Linked DNA regions of Homo sapiens: all the other regions are linked to region 3. The links are contacts of gene promoters, found by promoter capture Hi-C in blood cells and fetal thymus (Javierre and others, 2016). All regions are on one chromosome and are shown on one strand. The core of a region is centred on a gene start or on the middle of the fragment in contact, and the rest is flanking DNA. Distances in the headings are between cores, read along the strand shown. Region 1 has its middle 74 kb from the start of DUSP26. Region 2 has its middle 91 kb from the start of DUSP26. Region 3 holds the start of KCNU1 (potassium calcium-activated channel subfamily U member 1).

Region 1 (4,752 bases), core at 1,685-4,184, 3.1 Mb before region 3:
TAGTGGAATTAAGCAATTTGAAAGCAGCTGCAGAGATCCTAGGACCCCTATAAGAGCAAGCAGATTTGCCTGTCTTTTATGTTGGACTCCCATCAAACTTGTTAATGTCAATAAGAGAGAAATTGAGCTTGTCTTTGTTGTGAGCCTAATGTGGGCATTTGCTGGTTGCACTAAATTTCTCTCTTTGATTTCCTTCTCTTTGCCTTTTTCTGTTCCATTTATTTAGTGTCCCTCTTGGTAGTGGGTCCGTTAGCCTTTATTTTCAAACAAAGGAAGGGAGAGAGAGAAAAAGAGAAGTTTCAAAACCAGGAAGAAACTTTAGAGTGAGTGGTTAGCCTTTCTCCAAGGTGATATGCTTAGATCCTCCCAGTTCAACTCCGGGGAAATTCTACTACAGATTGATGGGTGCTTTGGTGATGCTGGGGTACAGTTATGGAATAGGTTGGAATTCCTACCCAAGGAGAGCTGATTGCCTCCATCCCTGCTGAACCACTACTCAATATGAAATATCTCATTTGGAAAGATTGGTAACTTACGCTTCTAACTTACTTCTAAGTAGTAAATTAGGTTGTAGATAACACAAAACTCATTTCAAACTGAGTTAAGCAAAAGGGGGAGTTTATTAGCACATATGGTATAGCAGAAAAATCCCAGGGGAAAGCTGGCTTCAGGTACTGTCATCTGAAATTAGTTTCTCTCCATCTCTTATTTTTATTTTTTTAATTTTCTTCTTCTTCTTCTTCTTCTTTTTTTTTTTTTTTTGTAGAGACGAAGTCTTGCTAAGTTGTCCAGGCTGGTCTTGAACTCCTGGCCTCAAGGAATCTACCCACCTTGGCCTCCCAAAGTGCTGAAATTGCAGGTGTGAGCCACTGCACCTGGCCCTATCTCTTGGTTTTATAGTCAGCTTCATCCACAGGCTTCATGTGAGACCTCTGGCAATTGTAAGATAATATCTTCCTAAATCTAAGTTCAACAGAAAAGAAAAAATTAAGTCTCTTTCCTATAGCTCCTCCATAAATCCTGGGATTAACTATGATTGGACCAATTTGATATTACTGAACCAATCACTGTATCCAGGAAATGAAGTTTGCCGTTTGACCAGATCTAGGTCACATGTTCACATTGATCAATCACTGGACTAGAGAATGTTGAGGCCACGACTGTCAACCCGAGGTTACATATTCCACTCCTAATCTGGGGTGGATACCCTCCAAATCATGTAGCTTGAGAATAAAAAAAAGCTTGTATTCCTGAGGAGAGTAAAGGAAATTGGGATACTATTGCCATTAAAATAAATCAATAAAGGAATGGATGCAAGGCAACCAAACCAGATAATTATTAATATCCACAAAAACTGGGTAGTGGGTGGAAACAGAATTTCTCCTAAGTAAAATAATGCTATTCAAAGCCATAGTTAGACAACCACCCCTGAGGTTTCTGGACTGAATGCTTTATTCTAATAATTACCATAATCATATGAAGCATTTTATTTTATTTCACTTTATTTTGAGATGGAGTTTTACTTACTCTGCTGCCCAGGCTGGAGTGCAGTGATGCAATCTCTGCTCATTGCAACCTCTGCCCGCCAGGTTCAACCAATTCTCCTGCCTCAGCCTCCTGTGTACCTGGGATTACAGGTGCGCACCACCATGCCTGGCTAATTTTTATATTTTTTGTGGAGACAGGGTTTCATCATGTTGGCCAGGCTGGTCTTGAACTCCTGACCTCAAGTTATTTGCCCGCCTCGGCCTCCCAAAGTGCTGGGATTACAGGTGCGAGCCACAGTGTTCAGGCTGCAGCATTTTAATAATAGGTGCAATGATGTAGAATAGACTATTTTGTGACGTATTGTCTCATTTTATATATATTAGTGCTTTTTAAAAATTGTATTTTATTGTGGTAAGAGCGCTCAACATGAGATCCGATCTCTTTGCAACTTTTTAAGTGTACAATGCAGTATCGTTAACTGTAGGTTACAATACTATTATAGGTTATAACCTACACGTTACAGGCTATAATGTTGCACAGCAGATCTCCAGAACTTCATCTTGCTTAACTGAAACTGTATGCTGTTGATTAGCAGTACCCCATTTCCCTCTCCCCAGACCTGGCAACCACCATTCCACTCTTTGATTCTATGTGTTCGATTATTTGAGATACTCCCTATTGGTGGCATCATGCAGTATTTGTTCTTCTGTGATGAGACCTGTTTCACTTAGCATAATATCTTCAAGGTTTATCTTAGGTTAATGTTGTTGCATATTGCAGAACTTTGTTTTTTTAAGGTAGAATAATATTCCATTGTATGCATATACCACATTTTCTTTATCCATTCATCTACCGATAGATGTTTAGATTGTTTTCACATCTTGGCTATTGTGAACAGCGCTGTAATGAATATGAGAGTGCTAATACCTCTTTGAGGTCTTGATTTCAATGCTTTTGGATTTATGCCAGAGGCGGGATTGCTGGATTATATAGTAGTTCTACTTTTTTTTTTTTTTTTTTTTTTTTTGAGACAGGGTCTCTGTCACCCAGGCTGGAGTGCAGTGGCACTATCTCAGCAACCTGAAACCTCTGCCTCCCAGGGTCAAGCAATTCTCCTCTCTCAGCATCCTGAGTAGCTAGGATGACAGGTGCATGCCATCAGGCCTGACTAATTTTTTTTTTTTTTTTTTGAGATGTAGTCTCACTCTGTCACCCTGGCTGGAGTGCAGTGGCGCGATCTGGGCTCATTGCAACCTCCGTCTCCCAGGTTCAAGTCATTCTCCCGCCTCAGCCTCCCAAGTAGCTGGAATTACAGGCATCTGCCACCATGCCCGGTTAATATTTTTGTATTTTTAGTAGAGACAGGGTTTCACCATGTTGGCCAGGCTGGTCTCAAACTCCTCATCTTAAGTGATCCACCTGCCTCGGCCTCCCAAAGTGCTGGGATTACAGGTGTGAGAGACCACACCTGGCCACCTGCTACTTTTTTTAAACAAAAAGGATTTATTTAAAATAAAGCCTAAGAAAAGGTGTGTTGATTTTTGGGTAACAAGTAATGCCAATGCACTTATGTACAAATGAAGTAACAAAGTTGGCAAGGTCCCTTGCACTGCACTTGCTTATCTAACTATGTGCTTGCTTATAAATTACAGGGGCTAATCTTGAAATAAATCAGGCATAGAGACCCAGCTGCAGAATCCTCCCCATGTAGAGATTACCTCAAGGCAGTTAGTCTGCAACACAGCCATTGTCACCTTGAGATGGCACCAGCCCACGCTCCAGGTGGACAATAACTGAAGATGGCAGTCAGAACAAGACATACAGACCCTGCACCACTCCCGCATGCTTCCCATGCCAACTTCACTTTTTGAACACACTCACTTGCCTAAAGTTTTGAGATGGTTCCTTTGGGACTTGAGCCCAACCATCTCCTAGCTGCTAGCCTTTGAATACAGTTGCTTTCTTTTCAAAGCATCTTGCTTCTTTAATTTTGGTTTTCCAGTGGCAAGCAGCTGGACCTGAGTTTGGTTACGTTGGCAAGTAGAGTCTAAAATTCCAAAAAAGTTTATTTTTATTATTACTAATGTTCAGATAAAGTATATTCTCAATGCTCAATGAATACAATTGGCCCTTGAACAATGTGGTGATTATGGGCACCCCATGCAGTTGAAAATTTGTGTATAACTTTTGTCTCCCCCAAAACTTTACTAATAGCCTACTGTTGACTGGAAACCTTACCAATGACATAAATAGTCGATTATACGTATTTTGTGTTATATGCAGTATGTACTGTGTTCTTACAATAAGGTAAACTAGTGAAAAGAAAATGTTATTAAGAAAATCACACAGAAGAGAAAATACGTTTACTATTCATTAAGTGGAAGTGGATCATCATAAAGGTCTTCATCTTCATTGTCTTCACATTGAGGAGGCAGAGGAAGAGGAGGAAGAGAAAGATTTGATTGGTTTTGCTGTCTCAGGTGTGGCAGAGGCAAAGGAAAACTCACCTGAAATTCAAACCCATATTATTCAAGGATCAACTGTACTTCTTAATTTACCCAGTCTTTTGTGATGAGTGACAGTTTTTTATTAGTTTGAGGGTTAAAGAGAATGTTACCAAAGTAATAATATAGGCCATGATAAAAACAAAATATAATAAAAACAAAAATTAAAAAAAGAAAATAATTTAAATTTTACTTTAGAGATACAACTTTTAGAATACAAAATATTTGTTTAAAAAAGCCTAAAAAAAGGCTTGATGATTTTTGAGTAACAAGGAATGCTGATTCACTTATGTACAAATGAAGTAACAAATTTGATAAGATTATAGAAATTGAGTTAATTGTCACAAGGTGGGTGGTTAAAATAAGACTTCCATGACAAAAATAGTTTACACTCTTAGTGAACTAACAATTTGCTATAGCACACATTTTAACAAATGTAATTTCCTATAACAAACATTCATAGTATCAGAATTATAAATCAGCAATCATTGGCACTATTAAAGCAAATCAATATTACAGGAAAGCTCTTTGCCATTCTTGGTAAACATTCTTAGAAACAACTTTATGCTGACAAGATACAGATAAGTCTCGTTTAATGTAAATTTTATGGTAGGTAAGTTGTACGTAAATATTCACTAAGCTTTTTCTCAACTCTAACAAGATGATCATCTAGTTGAATACTTTGTCTTCTCAGAGCTCCTGTTCAACAGTCTTTGAGTCTTCCAATTCTTCTCAAGGGTTCCTCACTCAGCTGCTAATT
Region 2 (4,640 bases), core at 463-2,962, 3.1 Mb before region 3:
TGTCACCCAGGTTGGAGTGCAATGGTGGGCTCATAGCTCACTGCAGCCTCAACTCCTGAGCTCAAGTGATCCTCTTGTCTCATCCTCCTGAGTAGTTGGGACTATAGGCATGCATCACCATGCTTGGCTAATTTTTAAATTATTTTTTTTTGAGACATGGTCTTGTTGTGTTGCCCAGGTTGGTCTTGAACTCCTGACCTCAAGCCGTCCTCCCACTTCATCCTCCTAAAGTGCTGGGATTACAGGTGTGAGACACCTCGCCCTGCCATAAAGAACCTTTTATAAGAAAATAACATAAAATACTCAGCTTCCCTACTTGGGTCTTGGATGTACAGTTTACAGGCAGGTTTCTGTGCTATTCAGATGCAAGATACACAGGCACCTCCAGGATGGCTTTCTCAGTTTGCTCAGGTTGGGCCACTGCTAGTGGATACTGTGTTTTGTGTGAATTAGAAAAGGGTACCCCCACAGGGCAGGCAGTATACCCCTTAGCAGTGCAGCTTGGGGAGCAGATCATACCATTGTGAAAAAGGCACTCCTTCCTCCAGGCAGCTGTCCCTGGGCCAGGAACATGACAGGTTGCATGTGCCTTGTGCTGGAGGTCAGCCCCCACTGCTCCTAGCCAGGAACCCTTGTGCACAGACAGGCAGCACAACCATACACAGTCCTTCTGACACGGGAGTGGGGCAGGGAAGTGTTGGGTACAGAAGGTCTGGGTCTTTGGTGGGGGGTCCACCCTCAAGCCTGTGCCTGTGGACCTACATGAGAACAGGAACTCCTGTTTTCAAACCCAAATGTTGCATTTTCTAAGACCACTGTGCCCCCTCCCCCGCCCACTGAAGCCCCCATCTTGTGCCCATATAAACATGAGCCCTTAGTGGGCACAGACACAAGCAGGTGAATATTGGAACCAGCAGACCGGTGATGACAGAACAACGTGACAGAGAAAGAGAGAAGAAAAAGGAAGTCTGGACATCGAGGAGGGTTCAGCCGGGGGGCAGTCGGGGAAGAGTCCGGCCGCTGGGCAGCCCCACTCCAGGGGAAGATCACCTTCCCACTCCATCCCCGCTTCCAGCTCCCCATCCATCTTGCTGAGAGCCACCTCTACCACTCAACAAAACCTTGCATTCATCCTGTGAGCCAATTCTTCTGGTACACTGGGAAAGAGCTCGGGATACAGAAAGCTGTCACATTGGCCCTCTTCCCTTGCGATAAGGCAGAGGGTCTATTGAGCTGATTAACACAAGCCTTCTGCAGCTGGCAAAGCTGAAAGAGCACTCTGTAACATATGCCCACTTGGGCTTGGGGAGTTGCAGACACCCACCCCTAGATGCTGCCGTGGGGCTGGAGCCCCAGAGCAACCCCAGGGCCCCTGCACCTGCCCGTCTGCATGCTCCCACTAGAGGCTTGAGCAGTGGGGCAACTGAAGGGGCAAGCCACATCCCTGTTGCACATCCTGCAAGGGGGATAAGGGAACTCTCCCGTTTCACCTCCACTTTGGGAATGGGGGCCCTCATGCTGGCAGAATCAAAGCTTTGGCTGAAGAGAGCAGCTATGTAGTTACAGGGTTAAGTTTTCTCTCTCTGTGAGAGTGGCCTTCCATCTGCAGAGTGAAATTGAGATGTCCCTCTGATTCTGTTTCCCCTGTTTATAGGCTACAGCTTCTGATGTATGAGAGGGGTGCTAATACATATGGGTCCACATGTTGATAGACTGGAGAGACAGCATGAGGGTATAAAACCAACCTGCCATTCCTAGTTTCTCTCCTTGATCTAGTTATGAGTTTAGCAGCCGAAATAGTTTATGGCTCACTCCCATCTAGAGAAGCAGTTGGGGGAAGACCTGCTCTGAGAAATAATGCCAGCATCTGAGGAAATCAAAATGAACATTGCAAGCTTTCGGAGTCAGCACCTTGTCTTTCAGAATGGGAAGGGCAAGGGCCTTGGAAGCTGCAGCCTTTGAATCAGAGCCCAAGGCCAAACATGATGTGATGGCTTTTCCTGTGCCCTCAGTGTCCCCAGGAGCCCAGAGTCATAAATCTATAGAAGGCAGCAGCTCTTTACCGTGAAGGGGTCTTGGAGCATCCTCCAGTTGTTCTGTGCAAACTTCTGTCATTGCTAGAAGCAAATGCTACCCTCTAGGCCCCCAGGGTTTAAAGGTACTGGGCCTTTGATCACCTTGGAAGTCAGTAATGACAGAGATTGTGGGCAAGTATTCAGCGAGAAATTAGCTGATAAACATTTAAAAAGGGAATAGAATGCTTATTTTCTTGTCCTCATTTGTTATCGCAAAAATAATAAAAAAAATCAAATGAAATTAAAAGAAAAATGTGACCCCTTTGTTTCACTTTTGCATATTGACTTTCAGTTCTTGTTTTTGTATCTGTATATTTACACAGTTATAAATCAGAGTTGTGATTTATAATATATTAGGGGAAGGAAGCAGAATGCTCAATGCCTTCCCATATTTCTTCTCCACATCTTCCTGTTTCTGAATTTTAGTGGCTACATGACACTCCTATACTAGAATAAGAATATAGTTTCAAAATCTCGCTGTTTAACTCCTGTTCCTTATCTGCTCTTTCTTAACTTCATTCAGGCTGGGACAGGAGGGAGTGAAGCCTATCCTGTTTAGAGTTTAGAGAATATCCTGGGCTGAACAATATGGATACAATGTCTAAAGGTCTTTCCTGCCATCATTTTACTTTATATCACTTGTCAGTGAATCCTGCTATAGTTTATAAATCATTTTCAGACATGTTATCTCATCACCACAACTGTATGGTATATCTTTTCCCACCTTTATAGATGAGGAAAAAAGAGCCACGTATCAGTAAGTGGCAGCTCCAGAACTTAAAGTCAGACTTCTGACTCATCATCTAGCGAACTTCTATTCACCCTTCAGAGCCCAGTTCGAAAGTCATGACTTCTAAGTAACTTTTACTATCGGTTCCCTCCTGATATGGTTTGGATCTGTGTCCCCACCAAATCTCCTGTGGAATTGTAATCCCCAATGTTGGAGATGAGGCCTGGTGGGAAGTGATTGGATTATGGGGGTGGATTTGTCCTGAATGGCTTAGCACCATCCCTCTTGCTACTGTCCTCGTGATAATGAGTGAGTGTTCTTGAAATCTGGTTGTTTAAAAGTGTCTGGCACTTCCCCGCTCTCTCTCTTCCTCGTGGTTCTGTCTGTGTGGGGGCTCCCCTTTGCCTTCTGCCATGATTATAGGTTTCCTGAGGCCTTCTCAGAAGCCAAGCAGATGCCAGTACCATGCTTCCTGTACAGGCTGCAGAACCGTTAGTCAATTAAACCTCCTTTCCTAGAGTGAGGTATTTCTGTCAGCGTGAGAATCCCATCCTCATTGAATATAAATTGTTCTTGGTTGTTGTTTTAAAGTTGTGGTTTTAAAATATGTGGTACACACATAACAAAGTTTACTATCTTAACCATTTTTAAATGTACAGTTCAGTGACATTAGGTATATTCATATTGCTGTGCAGCCATAACCACCATTCATTTCTGGAGCTTCTTCATCATCCCAAAAAGAAACTCTGTACCCACAAACAATAACTTCCCATTCCTCTCTCCCGACAGTCCCTGGATAACTCCATTCTACTTTCTGTCTCTACAAATTTGCTTAATCTAGGTACCTCATATAAGTGGAATCACACAAGATTTGTCCTTTTGTATCTGGCTTATTTCAAGTTTTATTCATTTTGTAGCATGTATCAGAATGTCTTTCCTTTTTAAGGCTGAATAATTTTCTAGTGTGTGTATATGTATATTTTGTTTATCCATTCATCTGTTGATGGAGACTTGGGTTGTTTCCATCTTTTGACAACTGTGGATAATGCTGCTATGAGTATTGGTGACATGGGAAAAGTTCCCTTGTCCCCCTCACAGGGTGAGCCACAGGGGTGTGGCTTGCTTCTTCAGTGCTCCACTGCTCAGACCTCTAGGGCAGCATATAGACAGGCAGGCTGTGGGGCTCCGACCTCACGGCAGTGTCTGGGGTGAATGTTCACAGCTGCAGCCCCAGTGGGCGTGTGCTACAAGGTGCTCTTTTAGTTTAGCTATCCGTAGGCAGCTTGTGTTAGCTCAGTTAGACTCCTGCCTTATCACAAGGACAGAGGGCTTTCTGAATCCTGGGGTTCTTGCCTTGGTGTACCGGAAGAATCAGATCACATGTGGGCTTGGAGAATGAGTGCAAGGTTTTATTGAGTAGAAGTAGCTCTCAGCAGATGGGGGAGCCAGAATGGAGATGATTTTTCCTTGGAGCTGGGCCACTTGGTGTCCCGGGCTCTCCTCTGACTGCCCCAGTCAAACTCTGCCTCATTCTGCTGGTCAATGGCCTGCCGGCATGCTCCCCTTGACGTCCTTTCAACGTCCAGCCACTTGTGTCTTCTTCTGCCGATGTGTTCCTCTTGATGTCGAGCTGCTTGTGTGTCTGGCCTGCTAGAGTCTTGGGGGTTTTTATAGGCACAGGATGGGGGTGTGGCAGGCCAGGGTGGTCTTGGGAAATGCAACATTTGGGCACAAAAGCAGGAGAACCTGTCCTCACCTAGGTCCATAGGCACAGGCCCAGGGTTGGAGCCCTAGCCAGGGACCACACTCTTCCCTTCCCAGGACTTCCCTGCCCA
Region 3 (4,722 bases), core at 1,951-4,450:
TATAAAAGAAAGGGTCAGAAAGCCGTAAGAGAGACCAAGGGAGAACTGAAGGACAACAAAATAGCAGCCACTATTGAAGTGAGTGCTCTGGGCAGAGGGAACAGAGGCATTGTGCTATAAGGGCCTGGACCAGGAAAAGGTTTGCATGTCCTCATAGCTAAGAGGAGGCAGTATGATTGGAGCGCAGCATAGATGATGTGTCGTGGGATGGGAGGTGACCAGTCTCTGTGGTTTGCCAGGACTAGGCGGTTTCTCCAGTCACTGGACTTTCAGTTTTGAACCTGGGACAGTTCTGAACAGGGACTGTTCGTCACTGTAGGTTCAAGATGGGTTTGAAGAGACTGATTTTGAAACCACCTGCACATTTTTCTACTCATTTGCAGACAGTAATATTATTATCGTGATAACAGCATATTAGAGGGACAAACTACCTGCCTGTTCGAATTGAATGGAATCCTTTTTGTGTTCATAAAGCAATATCTGCAAAAAGGGAAGAGGTGCCCAGGATGCATCATAATACAGCAGAATCGAAATACTTTGAAAATAGTGTTAGCCCAAGCAGCGCCATCCTGTAAACCCCTGCCATTTTGCACACCCTGGTTAGGGTGGAAAATTCCCCTGGAGGGGCTCGGGCCATGAGAAACATCCTGGCAGGTCCCAGGCCTAACCGTCTGACTGCAGGAAATTCTTCCTTTATCACATCCTGCCCTGCAGCGACCCATACTGCCCCACCTCTCCTGTCGGGACCTACAACTGCTCCAGTCTGTAAGCGGGGCTTGGGCTCCAGCGCTGTCTGGTGTTCCCCTTCTGCAAGTCTTTGTCCAATAAACCTGTGTTGCTGTTGAGCGACCTCCCCTTGTCTCTGTTTCTTTTCTCCATCCTAACAAACAGTAAATAGTAAAAGGGAAGAAAATAAGAAAATTAAAGTGATAATGATAGATAAAAGGGAGAATACTAAGTAAAGGATGTGGATGAATTTTGGCTTGGAAAGTCTGATCTTGTCCACATAGCTGTAAGTGTGTGTGTGTGTGTGTGTGCGCGCGTGTGTGTGTGTGTGCGTGCGCACACACACATATGTGAAAGAGATAAACAAGTGATTTCTCCCTCCCTCCTTCCCTTCCTTCCTTCCTCCCTCCCTTCCCTCATTCCTTCCTCCCTCCCTCCCTCCGTTCATTCCTTCCTTCCTTCCTTCCTCCCTCCCTACCTCCCTCCCTACCTCCCTCCCTGCCTCCCTCCTTCCTTCTTTCTCTCCCTCCTTTCCTTTACTTCTTCCTCCTCCTGTCTTTATAATTAATGCCATTCAAAAAAGGAACTGAAATGGCTAATGGCATCTTATATTGAGTTTTATGCTTTTCAAAATATGTTCACACTACCTTCTTGAATCCCCACAATAATTCTATCAAGTAGGTATTATCTTCCACATAAAATCAAAAGACTACGAACATTAAAATGACTTGTTAGAAATCACACAGTAACTTAATAGAAGGACTGGGCTGGAACGCAGGGCTCCTAACTCCTAGACCAGTGTTCTTTTAAACATCGCCCTTTGTTATTAGCTAGCTCAATGACAGGATTTTGTAGAAATGATAGGTAAGCTTAAAAGCAGGAAATGTAACTGTGGCAGCAGTCCTAGGAAATGCTACAGTTATCTTCTGAAACAGCCTGCCAAACAGTGTGGAGTCATGGCGGGCTCCCAAGGACAGCGTGATGATTCCTCTTGGGCCTCTTCACCTGGTGTCAGGTTATCTTGGTAATAACTGGGGTGAACTAGGCCCTCCACTGGGCTCTGACATTTTGCCTGCCACTTGTGCACACTGAAAGGCATGACATTTCTTACACCTTTGAAAACATCAGGGAAAATCAAAGAAATTTCTCTCATTCTGAACTTTACCTCTGCTGGGCCAAAAGGTTTGCTGCCAGGGCAGTAATAAAAGCAAGAAAGGGGAGAGTTCCATAAAGAAGAGATAAGTGGAATGGATTTATGGGCTGAAATAACAATCAACCAATGACCACACTAGTTAAATTGTCTTCTTCAATACCTGCACTCTATACTATGCCTTTCTTATGTAAAGAATAAACAAAACCTTTTTTTTTCTGTTTCAAGATAATCTTGATTTTCATTGTGTGTAATTAAGGAGTACAACGTGATATTCTTTGGATTGATGCACAGCAGATACACATATTTTCAAGTCACGTGATAATTTAATACATTCACATAATTTGTGTACTTGGGATATCAATCAACTTACATATTTGTATTTTCTTTGTGCTAGAAACATTCAAATTTTTCTCTTCTAGCTATTTTTAAATGTACAATAGATTATCATAAGCTATAGTCACTTCACTGATCTATAGAACATTAGATGTTATTTCTTCTATCAAACCAAATATTTGTACCCATTAATCAACTTCTCTTTATCCAACTTCTTTCCTCAGCCACCCTTCCCGGCATCTCGTAACCATGAATCTACTCTCTATCTTTATGAGATCCACTGTTTTAGCTTCCGCATACAAGTACAAACGCAAAATGCTCTTTTGATAAACTTATGCATAGTGAAGCAGTGACTACAGTCAAGCAAATTCATATATCTATCATCTCACAGAGTTAATCATCTTTTGTGTGCGTGTAACAAGAGCCCTTAAAATCTACTCTTTTAGCAAAAATCCTGAATACAAATAATTTTATTAATTATGTTCTTTGTTCTGCACACTAGATCTTCTAGACTTATTCATTCTGCATATCTGCTCCTTTGTATAAAGGATAAACAAAAACTTTAAAGTACTTCTCTCTTCTGTCCTTCCAAGCCTACTAAGCACGTGGCATCCTCCCAGATAGAGAACCAACTCATTCACACACATAGTTGGCTGTTGTTTCACTCCGAAAGAGTTGATTTGAAATTATTTGACTGCATTAACTGAACTGATAACCAGCTGATCATTGCTACAGATAATGGGATTTCTTCAAGGCATAGAGAAAGTCGTAACAATCCGATCTAGAATTATGATTTTTTTGACTATTCATATTGTAGGCCCCAGCCATCTCCAGTTGTGTATTCATTCACAACCCATGAGCTGGCACCGGGGGATTGGCAGACCCTTGTTCCTGGAACTTCTCACTGGTTATCACGCCTAATGTTGGAACACTGTGGTACAGTGAACTCTGATTCCTGGAATTGTTACCAGGCGACCACGGCGTCATCAAATGACCTGGCAATTCCGTCTACTGATGTCTCGAACATGTTTCAGACTAAGCTACGAAATGAAACTTGGGAAGACTTGCCAAAAATGTCCTGCACAACTGAGATCCAAGCAGCATTCATTCTCTCTTCCTTTGTGACCTTCTTCAGTGGACTCATCATCCTGTTGATCTTCAGGCTGATCTGGAGATCTGTTAAAAAATGGCAAATCATCAAGGGAACAGGAATTATCTTGGTCAGTTTCCTTGTTAGGGATCCCTCTGTGTGAAGTCAGAGATGAGTTTGGGGTAGTTTTGTGTTTAGTAAAAGATCTAAGCTTCATTCAGTTTTTCAAGCTAACAGAGTCAGCTTCTATAGCCTGGTGCCTCAGAAAGGGTGGTAAGCCAGACCTCAGGCCACATTCTGAGGCCTGAAGAGACAGGGCCAAGCCTCTTCTCTCTCCCATCACTGGAAAAAGCAATGTCTTGTATGGATAATGATTAATGTTAGCTCTGGAAACAGAGGTCACTGTTCTGAAAAAAAGTTCATAAACATTATGTCCATGCCTCTATCTCGAATTTTAACAAGACAATTGTGCTAGGTCATAGAAAGGAGGTGAAAGGGAACAAGACATCAACATCAACCTTGCTTTCATAAATTGTTCATGCATAATGCATATGTACTGACGTGTACATTGCCTTTTGTATACCATATGAAGACAACACATTGAGTTGCACATACACAGAGAAGCCCATGCATACATGCCTGTGCCATCCAGGCATAGATGCAAGGACATTTCTTATACCCAAACAAGCTTAGCAGGAGTTGATGTTGTTGAATAACAGCTGGCAAATGATGATGATGAGAATAAATGATGTATTATACAGATAAGGCATTGCTTAAGAGCTTGAAATAAAGCTCTCAAATGCTGTGTAATGGATGTTCTATTACCAGAGGTCAAAGGTGAAGAGTTTTACTATACCCTGTGTAGTTTGTTTCCAATTTTGCTTCCCAAACTTTCTTTCTCTGATAGATTATAGCAATTTCCATAACACAACACATTTCACCTGTGCATCATAATATTGAAAATTTGCTTAAAACATTTCTTTTAGTGCTAAAACCTACATAAAATATAATTCATAAATTGATAAGTTTTTAAAGTTATTGGTAATATGGAATTTTGTTTTCCATATTTGAAAATTATCCAATACTGAAGCTTATAGATTTTGTTCCTAAACAAGTTTATTCTATTGATTATTTCTACATTATGGATTTTAAGCTGTGGCACAATAATTGGAGAAAGAATTCTGGGATACTGACATATGGGTAAATAGCTATGATGGATCTGCCTCCTTGTTTCTACCTTGTTTTGTTGTTGTTAATGCACAACTGAATTTGTAGGATTTTTAAATCTTCTTAGTCTTCTGCTCCAGGCAATGTTCTTCTTCTCCATTATGTTCATTTTGTGTGATTACAAAAATGTGACAGTACATTTGTCAATTTCCTATATTTTTCATTTCTTACTTTGGGTGTAATTTATGTCTAC

What was found. The method cuts DNA at HindIII sites, captures the fragments that hold promoters and counts their contacts. A CHiCAGO score of 5 or more calls a contact.
Region 1: a contact is called between a fragment that was not itself captured here and the fragment with the promoter of KCNU1 in region 3, in 2 of 17 cell types (M0 macrophages and M2 macrophages). The highest score is 12.9, in M0 macrophages.
Region 2: a fragment that was not itself captured here is called in contact with the fragment with the promoter of KCNU1 in region 3 in 1 of 17 cell types (M2 macrophages); the score reaches 5.1 in M2 macrophages.

What each region holds. Positions count from the first base shown.
Region 1 is chr8:33,671,363-33,676,114 of GRCh38, forward strand. No RefSeq gene overlaps it. Among named protein-coding and RNA genes, the nearest start is that of DUSP26, 74 kb to the left of the region's middle. The HindIII fragment of the contact is 3,391 bases long and covers 1,240-4,630 here.
Region 2 is chr8:33,688,775-33,693,414 of GRCh38, forward strand. No RefSeq gene overlaps it. Among named protein-coding and RNA genes, the nearest start is that of DUSP26, 91 kb to the left of the region's middle. The HindIII fragment of the contact is 362 bases long and covers 1,532-1,893 here.
Region 3 is chr8:36,781,174-36,785,895 of GRCh38, forward strand. It overlaps KCNU1 (potassium calcium-activated channel subfamily U member 1), which reads left to right and starts at 3,201. Exons shown (of 27, transcript NM_001031836.3): 1 at 3,201-3,432. The coding sequence starts at 3,238. The HindIII fragment of the contact is 1,918 bases long and covers 1,594-3,511 here.